Regions from separate parts of the Homo sapiens genome. Here region 2 is linked to region 1. The links are contacts of gene promoters, found by promoter capture Hi-C in blood cells and fetal thymus (Javierre and others, 2016). All regions are on one chromosome and are shown on one strand. The core of a region is centred on a gene start or on the middle of the fragment in contact, and the rest is flanking DNA. Distances in the headings are between cores, read along the strand shown.

Region 1 (7,366 bases), core at 1-2,500:
GAGTCAAAACCTTCACGAAACTCTTCCTCGCTCACTTCACAGCCCAGGATATGCACTTGCTCCCCACTAAGGCAGAGATGAGAAGGGATTGTCAAAGAGTGGGCACAGGTGCCCTATCCAGGGTAGGCCGGGGAGACACTGTGGGATACTCACCACAGTGCAGATTTCTTGACAAGCGCCTTCAAGAGACTGCGCCCCTCCCACTCCACGGAATCTGCAGAGCGAGGGACGGATAAAGGGTATGAGAGCGCTGGGATTACCGCCTTCGCGAACCCGTCGCGATTTCCACACCTAGCCTGTGACCCCTGGCCCTTCCTGCCCACTTCCGTCCCCTCAGCCAGGCCCGAACCGCACCCCCCGCCCCGCCACCGTGCCTCTGGCTCTCACCCCGAAGCAGCACCAGGCCGCCCAAGGCCAACAGCGAGTCCAACATCTCCAACTCGCGTCCGGTCCCTGCTCTGGCGCCCTCTGATGGCGTCATGACCCAGTGTCCTTCCTCCTCGGGGTGAAACGGGCCGAGCACTCGGGCGTCCTCCCACCATTAAGACCTAACATAGTCTGGAATGAGAGGTGATTATGTTCAATATTCCCAGGGGGGCGCTCACGCGGAGGGCGCCCCTCCCCGAGCCCTGGCGCACAGTCGTACGGACAACGACCCCGTCTACATTTTCACTGTGACCGGGGCGGGAAGAGCAGTTGGGGCAGTTGTCAGTGGGAGGGGGAGGAGGACCCACAAGCCCCCCGCGAGGGCCCTAAGCGCGGGCCAAGTGACGTCACTCTCCCCGCCCACGCAGTTTGAGGCGGGGCCTGCTTCGCCTCAGGCCCCGCCCCGCGGCCACCTTCTGCGCGTGCGCAATACTGCAGCCTCGCTTGGAGTGCTTTTGGCTTTCCTTATACCTACCCGCCATAGACCGCGCAGGAGGAACTTAGTCCCGGTGAAGCGAATACACGTCACCACCGGAAGTAGTGTCAAAGGGGAAGAGGAGGGGGAAAGACAGGAAGAGGGAGTCCTTTGGACGGTAAAATGGCGCCTGTCAGAGTGGGAAACCCAGCTGCAGAGGCTGCAGCCCCGGTCCCCAGCGGCTAAAGGACCCCCGAGCTCGGGGAGGGGGAGGCCGCTCCGGCCCAGCGCTCTGCGCCCTCCGGCTCCCCCTCCCCCTCCTTCCCTGCTCCTTCGCTCTGCAGGCCCGTTCTCCGCTGCCGCGGCCCTTTGCGCGCCGCTGCCCCCGCCCTCCCCGTTCCTGCGAGCAGCCCCCTAGCGCGCCTGCGCAGCGGGCCACTCTCTGCTTTCCCCCCCTCCCCTTCCCTTTTCCCTTCCTCCCTTTTCCCTAGCCCCCTCCCCCACTGCCCCCTCCCCCAATTATCCTTCCCCTTCCCTCCAGGTCTCGGAGGACCCCATCCTAGCCCTACCTGTCTCGGCCCGCAACCTCCCCGAAGCCGTCGGTGCCACTCCCAGCCCATGTGGGCCCCCGCGGGCTGCCCACGCCTGTCCCCCAGCTCCCCGTTCCGCTGGGCTTTACCCTCGCCAGGGGTGGCTTTCTGAGCCGCCCGCTCCGTGCCCCTCTCTGCAGCCTCTCCTGCCACTCGGGGCCCCCGTTCCCCCTCCCGGCGGCGGGGGGCTGCCCCCGGGGGGCTGGCGGAGCTGGGCCGCGGGGGCCCCGGGGCCGGCGGTGCCGGGGTCATCGGGATGATGCGGACGCAGTGTCTGCTGGGGCTGCGCACGTTCGTGGCCTTCGCCGCCAAGCTCTGGAGCTTCTTCATTTACCTTCTGCGGAGGCAGATCCGCACGGTGAGCCAGGGTGGGCGCTGGCGGTGTTGGGGACGTCTGGCGGTGTTGGGGACATCTGTCCGTGGTGCTCAGGGGTTTTCGGAGTGTCGGGCCTCTGTTTGGGCCTAGGAAGGGAATCCTGGCTGGGGCTTTTCTCGCCAGAGAATTGGGCACCCTAAGCGGGGCGAGGTGGGAGACCCTTGTAATAGAACCTTGCCCTTGGGGGTTTTGATGGGGCTAGATGGGACAGGATTTGGCAACTCTTGGGGGCTAAGGTGGTGGGTGGGGCGCTCTTTAAGAAAGCTGGAGTTGTTGCTAAAGAAACCAAGAGGCGGGGAACACCTGTTTGATGACAGCCGGATCTGTGGATGTGGGCTTGGGAAAGACCCTATTTGGAACCTCGGTGTGTGTTTGGTCCTATAACAAGGAAGAGACAGACTTGTGTGTCAAGGGTGGAGGTGGGTGGGAGGGCATACGTTACAAACAAGGACGGGAACTTGGGAAAGCCCTGGGTGTGAAGGAGAAACGCCTGCGGTTCCCATTAAGAGAATTCCTCCAAAAAGGCTGTGAAAATTTATTTCATAGTGTGAGTGTAGGTATCTGGATTTATTGAAGACTAAAGCAGATGCTTTTACGATGGGCCTCTTTAATTGTGGGAGGGAGTTCAAGGTGGGTGCTGTGCCCACCATTGAAGTTTGGGTGTCCCTGTCAGAGGACAGCGCTGGGCAGTTGTAGGGCTTGAAAATGAGGACGTTTGCTTCTCCAGGAGAGCCTAGCATTCTGAGGGAAACTGTCCGGATGGACCCAAGCATCTCTGGGTCCCCTCTCCCTTAGCTTTTCTCCAAGGTCAGAGGTCCTTCAGCTAACAGCACTTTAAATGAATGTGCTCTTGTGGTCTCACCACCACCAGGGAGAATCCTCGGAAGGAGTCTGGGGAGAATTTAGTAAGCGGAGACACAGGTTCTGGGTCTGTACTGTGGTCTGTACCCCTTAGCATACCTCAATACAATTTGAAAGAATAAACCCAGGTTGGGGTGACCTGGGGTCCAGAGAATTTCCAGAAAGCCCTCAGTGGTAGTGGTGGTTGATTTAACTGATTTGGGAGAATGGGTCTGGCCTTGGGTTCATTCTGTCCTTTACCAGTCTGCTTCCACTTCCTGATTTAGGGCGCGAACAGTACAGGATGGTTGTGGCTGTAGGCAGCAGCGCTATTCCCCCGAGACAAGAGCTAGGAGCCAAGAAAAATTTAGGGTCAGAGATGCTGGGATATGTGTGGGGCTATCTCCTGGGGTTTTCTTTTCTTTTCTGAGACAGTCTCGCTTTGTCGCCCAGGCTGGAGTGCAGTGGTGCCATCTCCGCTCACTGCAACCTCCACTTCCTGGGTTCAAGCGATTCTCCTGCTTCAGCCTCTCGAATAGCTGGGATTACAGGCACCTGCCACCACACCTGGCTAATTTTTGTAATTTTAGTAGAAACGGGTTTTCACCATGTTGGCCAGGATGGTCTCAAACTCCTGACCTCAAGTGATCTGCCCGCCTTGGCCTCACAAAAGTACTGGGATTGAGCCACTGCACCCGGCCTCCAGCGGTTTTCTTTATGGGTTGACTGCCATCTTCTCTGACGTTCTCGCTCCAACACATCAGTTTTCTGGGCATACGGAGTGGTGCTTCAGCTCATCCACAGGTTACTTCCAAAATTGCTCTCCTTTGGGCAGCACTGACCCCATAGCCTTTTGTCCTCCCTTCCCTTCCAATCTGGTTTCTTTCCCCACCCCGCTTCTGGCAGATGCTTGGAGCATTCCCTACATGCCCAGCATATGCAACCCGAGATAGCAAGGCTGGACACTGGAGCTCTTTCGGACCTCATCATGGCCCAGGGAGAAAAGAAGGGCAGATCTTGATTAGGGGGAGAGAGCCCTGTGGGTTTAGAAGGGAGAACCTGGTTCTGGTGTGGCTTGGGGCCTAGGTATGCACTGAAGAGGGTTTGTACCTTTGAAGAAAAGTGTGGAAGAGGGAATTGCCAGGCTTTGTATGGGGAGATGTGCGTATTAGGAAATAGCCCCTAGAGAATGCTTGGAGAAGCAGAGCTGGATGAGGTGGTGACGTCCTTGTCCCTTATTCACCTCTCACTTAACGGCCCTGACTTCACTCTGGCCTCCTCCAGACCCTGCCAGTCAGCCTGGCAGGGGCTTTCCAGTGTTCTTTGCCTCACCCTGGGTACCAGGATAAGGAGACTGTTCAGAGGGCTGAGGTTCTCTGAACTTGTGACTTGGCTAGAAGGGACAGAAGTGGACAGGTGGCTGGTTAAAATAGGCCTGGTGGCTTCTAGCCAGAGGAACTTAGCTGACCTGACAACCTCTGGATTCCCTCATTCTATATTCCCATTAAGGACCCAGGGATCTCCTCCCGACTCCTACTCCATGTGCACTAGGGAATCTGAGGCACTTAGTTCCCAATGATGGTAGTTGCTACAAATAATTCTTGGGGTGAAGGTTGCGTTGTGGGGGTCGTTTCTTTGTTCAGTGTAGCAGGATAATATCACAGTTAAGAGGGCAGCTTCGGCCGGGGGTGGTGGCTCTTGCCTGTAATCCCAGCACTTTGGGAAGCTGAGGCAGGTGGATCATGAGGTCAGGAGCTCAAGACCAGCCTGGCCAATATGGTGAAACCCCGTCTCTACTAAAAATACAAAAATTAGCTGGGCGTGGTTCGCGCGCCTATAGTCCCAGCTGCTTAGGAGGCTGAGGCAGGAGAATTGCTTGAACCTGGGAGGTGGAGGTTGCAGTGAGCTGAGATCGCGCCACTGCACTCCAGCCTGGGCAATGGAGTGAGACTCCCTTCTCAAAAAAAAAAAAAAGAAAAAAAAAGAGGGCACGTTCTTGGGTTGAACTGCATTGGTACAATCCTGGCTCTATCACTTCATTGATTCTACTTTTTTTTTTTTTTTTTTTTTTTTTTTTGCGACGGAGTCTTGCTCTGTCACCAGGCTGGAGTACAGTGGTGCGATCTCGGCTCACTGCAACCTCTGCCTCCTGGGTTCAAGCCACTCTGCTGCCTCAGCCTCCCGAGTAGCTGGGGCTATGGGCACGCACCACCACGCCCAGCTAATTTTTATATTTTTAGTAGAGACGGGGTTTCACCATGTTGGCCAGGATGGTCTCCGTCTCTTGACCTTGTGATCCGCCTGCCTTGGCCTCCCAAAGTGCTGGGATTACAGGCATGAGCCACTGCGCCTGGCTGATTCTACTAATATCAACTGACCACTTTTGCTACTGTGTTCTAGGCACTGGGAATACAGCCATGATCTAGACAAAATCATATTCTCATGGAGTTTTCATTTTAATTAGGGAGAGAAACAACTTAAGATAATTCCTAGCTGTGTGGCCTCAGTTTCTTTAACCTTAAAACAGGTATAACAGTAATATTATGGTTGTTTTGAGGATTAAATGAAAAAGGCCAGCGTAGTGGCTCATTCCTGTAATCCCAGCACTTTGGGAGGCAAAGGCAGGAGGATCACAAGGTCAGGAGTTTGAGACCAGCCAGGCCAATATAGTTAAACCCCGCCTCTACTAGAAATACAAAAATGAGCCGAGCGTGGTGGTGCACGCCTGTAGTCCCAGCTATTAGGGAGGCTGAGGCAGGAGAATTGCTTGAACCTGGGAGGCGGAGGTTGCAGTGAGCCGAGATCATGCCGCTGCACTCCAGCCTGGGCAACAGAGCGAGACTCCATCTCAAAAAAAAAAAAAAAAGAAGAAGAAATAAGCCTAAATTACATACATAGTACCTGTGGTAAATGTTCATTATGTGCTCCCTGTTACTGTTACTGGGGAAGGCTTCCTTATCAAGGGTTTCAATCCTCTTTTGTGCTATTTGTAGGTAATTCAGTACCAAACTGTTCGATATGATATCCTCCCCTTATCTCCTGTGTCCCGGAATCGGCTAGGTAAGTATGTGGTGGGAAGCCTCCTTTAGGGTGAAGTAGGGGCTAGCTCTGGGTCAGAGGTCGGTCAATATTATTCCTCCCCACTCTGGTTCAGCCCAGGTGAAGAGGAAGATCCTGGTGCTGGATCTGGATGAGACACTTATTCACTCCCACCATGATGGGGTCCTGAGGCCCACAGTCCGGCCTGGTACGCCTCCTGACTTCATCCTCAAGGTGTGTGGTGGTGGGGAGTGATGAAATGGTTCCATCTGTTCCTCTGCCCAAACCTGGACTCCCTTTCCCAGTCCCAGAGCATCTGTCTCCATCCGCTGGCACCAGTGTCAGCCTGGAGGAGGGAAGCAGATGGGTGGGGCGTTTTCTAGGCCTGGGTTGTGGTGGTCATGACATCCCCCAGCCCATCTTGTTCCTCTGTAGGTGGTAATAGACAAACATCCTGTCCGGTTTTTTGTACATAAGAGGCCCCATGTGGATTTCTTCCTGGAAGTGGTGAGTTTTGGAGAGCTAAAGGGAGCTCTGTAATGAAGGAATGGTTTTAGGGCTCTGGGAATTGGGAGGATTTGGAGGAAGGGGTGAGGAGAAACGGGTTAGAGCAGTTTTCTAGAGGGGAGGCTGTGTAATGGTAGGGGAGTGGCTTTCAGTACTTGGGGTTCATTTGTTGTGCTGATGTAATTCTTTTCCGCTGGCATCTTTCTCTTTTGTTCTTGCATTTCTGAATCATAAGAGTGTAGGATGCCTAACACTGAGTTTGGAGGTTTGGGCTGGGGGTTCAGAATTTCGTGTCCTCAGAGACATTTGATGTTGATGGAAGGCCTGAAGGACTATGCCATTGCCTTTCTGAAAGATAACTGTATGTCTAAAGGAATCATCACCTTGTATGGCATCGCCCTCTCCCCCAATCTATTTCAGGTGAGCCAGTGGTACGAGCTGGTGGTGTTTACAGCAAGCATGGAGATCTATGGCTCTGCTGTGGCAGATAAACTGGACAATAGCAGAAGCATTCTTAAGAGGAGATATTACAGACAGGTAAGCTAGAATCCCAGTCTAAGAGTGTGGCTTGGGAGGGAGGCCACCAGGGAGGGATCTGGGTTTGAGGAGAGTATCCTGGAGAGAGGCCTGCTACATGATCCCCTGCCTTCCAGCACTGCACTTTGGAGTTGGGCAGCTACATCAAGGACCTCTCTGTGGTCCACAGTGACCTCTCCAGCATTGTGATCCTGGATAACTCCCCAGGGGCTTACAGGAGCCATCCAGGTACGGGGGAAGGTGGTGAGTCTGGCAGGACCAGAACATGGTTCTGAGAAGGTATTTTTGCAGGAGACCTGGGCTTTGGTCCTTGAGAGCTGGGATTCCCTAGATTATCCCTAGTTTGCTGTAAGTCGAAATGCAAGTTATTTTTGTGTTTCAAATGAGATACCATATATGTCCATTTCATAAGTCGGATTTCTTATATCATTTTTTTCATTTTTAAAATTTATTTTTGGCTGGGCACGGTGGATTATGCTTGTAATCCCAGCACTTTGGGAGGCCGAGGCAGGCGGATCACGAGGTCAGAAGTTCGAGACCAGCCTAACAAACATGGTGAAACCCCATCTCTACTAAAAATAGAAAAAACTAGCCAGGCGTGGTGGCGCACGCCTGTAATCCCAGCAACTCGGGAGG
Region 2 (7,366 bases), core at 4,063-6,562, 340 kb before region 1:
ACCTGGGAGGCGGAGGTTGCAGTGAGCCGAGATCACACCATTGTACTCCAGCCTGGGCAACAAGAGTGAAACTCCATCTCAAAGAAAAAAAGGATATTTCTTGTTTTTTTGTTTGTTTTTTGAGATAGCGTCTCTGTCGCCCAGGCTAGAGCGCAGTGGCGCTATCTTGGCTTACTGCAACCTCCACCTCCCAGATTGAAGCGATTCTCCTGCCTCAGCCTCCCAAGTAGCTGGGATTACAGGTGTGTGCCATCACACCTGGCTAATTTTTGTCTTTTTTAGTAGAGATGGGGTTTCACCATGTTGGCCAGGCTGATCTCAAACTATGGACCTCAGGTGATCCGCCCACCTCGACCTCCCAAAATGTTGGGATTACAGGTGTCAGCCACCACGCCTGGCCTGACTAGAGTATTTCTGTGAGATCTTTTTGAATTCTGACATCGTATAATTGTCAGATTCCCTTTCGTTGGTATTATACTATTCTAAGTGAATAGGGTGTGTGTGTTTGAATACCATTTCCATTTATCAAGGGAATTGATCTTTTTGGGAGGCTTTTTTCTGTGCCTGTGCAATTTCTGGGTCATGATAATCTTTGACTTCTTCAGGGATCCTGCTCAGGGCACTGGCAGGTAAAAATTCACCATTACCTTCAGATGATACAAACTTTATTTTTTGTTTTTGTTTTTTGTTTTGAGATGGAGTCTCAGTCTGTTATCCAGGCTGGAGTGTATGTAGTGGTGCGATCTCAGCTCACTGCAGTCTCTACCCCCCGAGCTCAAGTGATCCTCTCACCTCAGCCTTTGGGTGGGTGGGATTACAGGTGCATGCCACCATACCTGGCTATTTTTTTTTTTTTTTTGGAGACAGTTTCCCTCTGTCACCCAGGCTGGAGTGCAATGGCACAATCTCCGCTCCCTGCAACCTCTCGCTCCTGGGTTCAAGCGATTCTTGTGCCTCGGCCTCCCAGGTAGCTGGGATAATAGGCACGCGCCCCCACGTCTGGATAATTTTTGCTTTTTTAGTGTTTCACCATGTTGCCCAGGCTGGTTTTGAACTCCCGACCGCAGGTGATCCACCTGCCTTGGCCTCCCAAAGTACTGGGATTACAGGCATGAGCCACTATACCTGGCCCTAATTTCAGTATTTTTAGTAGAGACGGAGTTTCACCATGTTGGCTAGGCTGGTCGCGAACCCCTGGCCTCAAGGGATCCACTTGCCTTGGCCTCCCAAAGTGCTGGGATTATAGACATGACCCATTGCACCCGGCCTAATTTTTGTTGTTGTTTTTTAATTTTTTGAGACGGAGTCTCATTCTGTCGTCCAGGCTGGAGTGCAGTAGTGCGATCTCAGCTCACTGCAGCTTGTGTAGTTAGCGCAGAGTGAGCAAAGGGAGACCGATACAAAATTCGGTCAGAGAGTAGATCATGTAAGACATGTACGGTAGGCTGAGGAGGGGGGATTTTATTGTGCGTATACTGAGAAGCCATTGAGTTAACAGTGCCTTCTGGTTTTTTGTTTTGTTTTGTTTTGTTTTGTTTTTGAGACGGAGTCTCGCTCTGTCACCCAGGCTGGAGTGCATTGGCGTGATCTCGGCTCACTGCAAGCTCCACCTCCCAAGTTCACGCCATTCTCCTGCCTCAGCCTCACGAGAAGCTGGGACTACAGGCGCCTGCCACCACGCCCGGCTGATTTTTTTGTATTTTTTTTTAGTAGAGATGGGGTTTCACCGTGTTAGCCAGGATGGTCTTGATCTCCTGACCTCGTGATCCACCCACCTCGGCCTCCCAAAGTGCTGGGATTACAGGCGAGAGCCACTGTGCCCGGCCGAAAGTGCCTTCTGTTTTAAACTCCTGTTTCAATGACAGATGGAAAGGGGGGCAAGAATGGAAGCAGGAACAGAGCACAGTAGTCCAGGTGAGAAACTTGAACTGGAGTGCTAAAGGAAGAGAGAGAGAGTAGTTTTATGTAGGATAAATTTTACGAGTAAAACCAGTAGGACTGACAGGCTCTGTGATACTGAGAGATACATATTTGGTCTCCTGACCAGGCTCCTGGCATTCAACTTCTAAAATCCTTGGAATCTCCAGTGATGTGTGTTTTTGTGTGCTGATGAGTTGATTCATGGCTAGCCCCTCTAGGTGGCTTCATGATTAGAGGGTTGGAACTTTCAGCCTCACCCCCACCAACTTCCTGGGAGGGGAATGGGGCCAAAGGTTAAGGCAATCACTGAGGATCAGTGATTTAATCAGTCATGCCTAGTAGTGAAGCCTCTAAAAACCGGAAAGGGGCCGGGTGCAGCGGCTCACGCCTGCAATCCCAGCACTTTGGGAAGCCGAGGCAGGTGGATTGCCTGAGGTTAGGAGTTTGAGACCAGTCTGGCCAGCATGGTGAAACCCCTTCTCTACTAAAAATACAAAAAAAGGGAGGCAGAAGTTGCAGTGAGCAGAGATCATGCCACTGCACTCTAGCCTGGGTGACAGACCCCATCTCAAAAAAAAGAAAAAAAAAAAAGAAAACCCAGCTGTTCTGCAAGCTTATCTAGAAGACGCTTATAGGTCATTGTAGATCTCTTCCCCTCCCCTCCTAATGTAGTGATTTTGAACACTCAACTTAGTTTATTTTTCCAACTTTCTCTTCTTGCCTGGTATAAATCCTTGGTATAATTCAGTCCTATCCAACTTGGAAGTGGGAAGTAGTGTATTTCAATCTAGGAATGTCTCCTTTCAGGTATTGTTTCTATTTGGTGCTTACAACATGGGATTCACTCCTCTAAAACCTTTCCTGTCTTCCTGCCCCTGAACCCAGGGGTTCCTCTAAGGACTGATTGAGAAATGAAGTGAAAGCCTGGTGTTCTAGAGGCATGTTTTCTGTTTTTCTTAACCCCTCACTTTTTTTTGAGACAGAGTTTTGCTCTGTCACCAGGCTGGAGTGCAGTGGCATGACCTCGGCTCACTGTAACCTCCAACTCCCTGGTTCAAGCAATTCTCCTGCCTCAGCCTCCCAAGCAGCTGGGATTATAGGCACACCCCACCAAGGCCAGCTAATTTTTGTATTTTTAATAGAGATGGGGTTTCACTATGTTGGCAGGATGGTCTTGATCTCCTGACCTTGTGATCCACCTGCCTCAGCCTCCCACAGTGCTGGAATTACAGGCGTGAGCCACCGCGCACAGCCTACCCCTCACTTTTTACTTAAGTTGTTGAGTTTTATTTGGGGATGAGTTGATATTTGTTTGATTAAGGTAAGAGTTCCTTACACTTGCATGTACCTTGTGAGAAGTACTTTCACACCAGCCTTGTCTAATCCTCTTGCTAGTCTTGAGAATAAGATAAGTTGGATATAATCACTTAGCAGATGACACAAGAGGCAGAGTATGTTTTGTTTAAGATCACACAGATAGATACTCTTAGGGACAGATACTGTTAGGGCCAAATCCAGAACTTCGGTGTGTCCCAGTCCAAACTCTGCCCTCTTTACCTTTCCTCCCCCACAAACCACTGGTATTTGGAAGGAGTGGAATTAAAAGTTCCTGACCTTGGCCGGGCGTGGTGGCTTATGCCGGTAATCCCAGCACTTTGGGAGGCTGAGGCGGGCGGATCACCTGAGGTCAGGAGTTTGAGACCAGCCTGGCCAACATGGTGAAACCTTGTCTCTACTAAAAATACAGAAATTAGCCAGGCATGGTGGTGGACACCTGTAGTCGTAGCTACTCAGGAGGCCGAGGCATGAGAATCACTTGAAGTCGAGAGGCGGAGGTTGCAGTGAGCTGAGATCGCGCCACTGCACTCCAGCCTGGGCGACAGAGCGAGACGCCATCTCAAAGAAAAAACAAAAAGTTCCTGACCTTTCCACACAGGTCCTCGTGGTCCGCGGACTCCAGAGTGGTTCTAGCTTTCTATTAATATCACACAGTTTTCCTTATTTAAGTTATGCAAAGGGTCGTGTGCCTGGGACTGTGAGATTCTACCACCATGATTCCTACAGTGACTTTTCCTTTCAGACAAGCAAGCAGTTGGCAGCAGCCTTCCAAGAGGAGTTCACAGTGCGAGAGGACCTGATGGGACTGGCAATTGGGACTCACGGTGCCAACATCCAGCAGGCCCGAAAAGTACCTGGGGTGACCGCCATTGAGTTGGGTGAAGAGACCTGCACTTTCCGCATCTATGGGGAGGTCAGCAAAGGATGTCTTTCTTCTGGGTCTCTTAGGGGATAGAGGGAAGAGAGGCCGAAGTAGAAAATAAGCCTCAAACTGGGCACAGTGGCTCACACCTGTAATCCCAGCACCTTCGGAGGTCAAAGTGAGAGGATCACTTGAGCCTAGGAGTTTGAGACCAGCCTGTGCAACATAGTGAGACCCAATCTCTACAAAAATTTAAAAATTAGCTGGAAGTAGTGGTGCGTACCTGTAGTCGCAGGTACTTGGGAGGCTGAAATGGGAAGATAGAGGGGAGGATCACTTGAGCCTGGGAGTTGGAGAACAACCTGGACAACATAGAGAGACCCTGTCTTTACCCCCCAAAAAAACCAAAAACCAAAAAACGTTAACTGAGCGTGGTGGCATGCATCTGTGGCCCCAGCTACTTGGCTACTTGGGAGGCGGAGGCAGGAGGATCACTTGAGCCTGGAAAGTCAAGGCTGCAGTACACCATGATGGTGCCACTGAACCAACCTGGGCAACATAGTCAATAGAGTGAGACCAAAAAATCAAAAAAATAGACCAGATCTCTGTTGCCCAAGCTGGTTGTTAACTCCTAGCCTCAAGCAATCCTCCCTTCTTAGCCTCCGAAACTGTTGAGATTATGGGTGTGAGCCGCTGTGCCTGGCCAAGGTCCTCTGTTTTTTTTTTTAAGTTATTTATTTGTTTAATTTTTTTTTTTTATGAGATGGAGTCTAACTCACTCTGTTGCCCGGGCTAGAGTGCAGTGGCACAATCTCAGCTTATTGCAACCTCTGCCTCCTGGGTTCAAGAAATCTCCTGCCTCAGCCTCCGGAGTAGCTGGGATTAGAGACGTGAGCCACCAATTTTGTATTTTTAGTATTTTAGTATTTTTGTATTTTGATTTTTGTATTTTTAGTAGAGATGGCGTTTCACCATATTGCCCAGGCTAGTCTTGAACTCTTGAGCTCAATTTATCCACCTGCCTCCAGCCTCCCAAAGTGCTGGGATTACAGGCGTGAGCCACCACATCCAGCTGGTCTTCTGTTTTAGTAACAACTCCCTGCTGTTCTTCCTTTAGACTCCCGAGGCTTGCCGACAGGCCCGAAGCTACCTTGAGTTTTCTGAGGACTCAGTGCAAGTGCCCAGGAACCTGGTTGGTGAGTTGGTGGTGTGTATATACAGTTAGAGGTCAGAATCAAGATTCTCTACAGTGATTCTGAGCTTTTATCCAGGATTGGCACCTCCCTGTGGACTCCCAGTTTCACAAGGACAGAGAAACAGTCTGTAATGGGAGTGATAAAAATGAAAGAATAAATTTCTAGGGATTGTAACATTTTGTCCTGTAAAAACACATCAGAAACCTAGAAGCAGGAGAATGAAGTAAATGGAATCCATATAAAGAAAATGAGGCTGGAAGACGGTGTATCAGCTTTATTCTTATTTCCTTAAAAAAAATAAAAGGCTGAATTCCTCATTTACCTATTCCAGGCAAAGTGATTGGAAAGAACGGGAAAGTGATCCAGGAGATTGTGGATAAATCTGGTGTGGTGAGGGTTCGAGTGGAAGGTGATAATGACAAGAAGAACCCCAGGGAGGAGGTATGGGTACGGGGCAAGTGGGCATAGAGATTGGTTTCCAGAAGTAAATGGGATTGTCCTCTGAGGGCTGGGATTGTTCTTTGAGAGGGTGGAGTACGGAAAGTTGTTTAACACTAGTAGATTTAGAGCCCAGAATGATCCCACTGGGCAGGCTCCCCTAGGAGACTGGGCGGCGTTAATCCTTCCATTTCATTTTCCTTTCTGATCCATCGTTTCTGCTCTCTGTTCTCTAGGGAATGGTTCCCTTCATTTTTGTTGGCACCCGAGAGAACATCAGCAATGCCCAGGCTTTGCTGGAGTATCACCTCTCCTACCTGCAGGTACCCAGGCCGGGAGAGAAAAATGCTGGGTGTGAAAAGGGAACTAAGACTGCTGTGGGGGTCAGCTCAGGGATTTTGGTTCTCTGTTTGTCTCTCCGTGTAGAACAGAAAACATCTGTGGAAATTTGGGGCTATAGGGTTGGGTCCCAGAATTTTCCTTGTTTAGCCAGTGTCTTCCTTCTCCCTGCATTCCTGAGAGGTTAGATATAGAGGGACAGTCAGGGTGCAGAAGCATGAAGCAAGGCACTGATCTTATTTCTCCTTCCCCTTCTTCCATCTTTTACCCAACCAGGAGGTAGAGCAGCTTCGCTTGGAGAGGCTACAAATTGATGAGCAGCTTCGGCAGATTGGGCTGGGCTTTCGCCCTCCTGGGAGTGGGCGGGGCAGCGGTGGCAGCGACAAGGCTGGATATAGCACTGATGAGAGCTCCTCCTCCTCCCTCCATGCGACTCGAACCTATGGGGGCAGCTATGGGGGCCGTGGCCGTGGCCGGAGGACAGGCGGTCCTGCCTATGGTGAGACAGTTATGGGAACAGGAGGCAAGGAGTGGCAGGGCTTGTGGGTAGAGGCAGAGGTCTGGATGGAAGTTTGGGGAAATCTGGAATGGAGATGATGAAAAAGTGATTGATTGGCTGGGAGGCTTGTGAGTGAGAAGGAGAATTCTTCCAGTTTGGGGGATGTGATGGATCCTGAGGTGGGATGAATGGCCGTGAATAAATCCCATTGTGTTCTTCAGGCCCCAGCTCAGATGTGTCTACAGCTTCAGAGACTGAGTCAGAGAAGAGAGAGGAGCCCAACCGAGCTGGGCCTGGCGACAGGGATCCCCCAACCCGAGGGGAAGAAAGCCGGAGGCGGCCGACTGGGGGCCGGGGTAGGGGACCCCCACCTGCCCCCCGGCCCACTTCGAGATACAATTCTTCATCTATTAGCTCAGGTACCAGACAGCTGGGTTCATGAATATGGGCCAAAAGGAAAGATGATGGGCACCTGACTGCCAACTCCTCCTCTTCTTCCTCTGACCAGTGCTGAAGGATCCAGACAGTAATCCCTACAGCCTATTGGACACGTCTGAACCAGAGCCCCCGGTTGATTCAGAACCTGGGGAACCCCCCCCAGCAAGTGCCAGGCGCCGCCGCTCCCGCCGCCGCCGCACTGATGAAGACAGGACCGTCATGGATGGAGGCCTGGAATCAGATGGGCCCAACATGACAGAGAATGGCCTGGGTGAGGGTGTGCCTGGGGTCTGGAAAGTTAGAGATGGGTAGGAATCGAGGGTGGGAGGTTGGATG

What was found. The method cuts DNA at HindIII sites, captures the fragments that hold promoters and counts their contacts. A CHiCAGO score of 5 or more calls a contact.
Region 2: a fragment that was not itself captured here is called in contact with the fragment with the promoter of CTDNEP1 in region 1 in 8 of 17 cell types (naive B cells, naive CD8 T cells, total CD4 T cells and 5 more); the score reaches 9.2 in naive B cells.

What each region holds. Positions count from the first base shown.
Region 1 is chr17:7,245,618-7,252,983 of GRCh38, reverse strand. It overlaps CTDNEP1 (CTD nuclear envelope phosphatase 1), which reads left to right and starts at 1,250. Exons shown (of 8, transcript NM_001143775.2): 1 at 1,250-1,789; 2 at 5,641-5,707; 3 at 5,802-5,920; 4 at 6,122-6,193; 5 at 6,614-6,730; 6 at 6,847-6,958. The coding sequence starts at 1,688. It overlaps ELP5 (elongator acetyltransferase complex subunit 5), which reads right to left and starts at 769. Exons shown (of 8, transcript NM_203414.3): 1 at 388-769; 2 at 154-214; 3 at 1-66. The coding sequence starts at 433. RefSeq lists silencers at 113-352, 1,123-1,332, 1,403-1,522 and enhancers at 383-602, 471-1,059, 1,060-1,647. The HindIII fragment of the contact is 9,547 bases long and covers 1-7,366 here.
Region 2 is chr17:7,592,629-7,599,994 of GRCh38, reverse strand. FXR2 (FMR1 autosomal homolog 2) reads left to right here. Exons shown (of 17, transcript NM_004860.4): 8 at 4,001-4,171; 9 at 5,238-5,316; 10 at 5,648-5,757; 11 at 5,991-6,077; 12 at 6,370-6,592; 13 at 6,814-7,011; 14 at 7,101-7,301. Among named protein-coding and RNA genes, the nearest start is that of SOX15, 6.2 kb to the right of the region's middle. The HindIII fragment of the contact is 5,554 bases long and covers 2,536-7,366 here.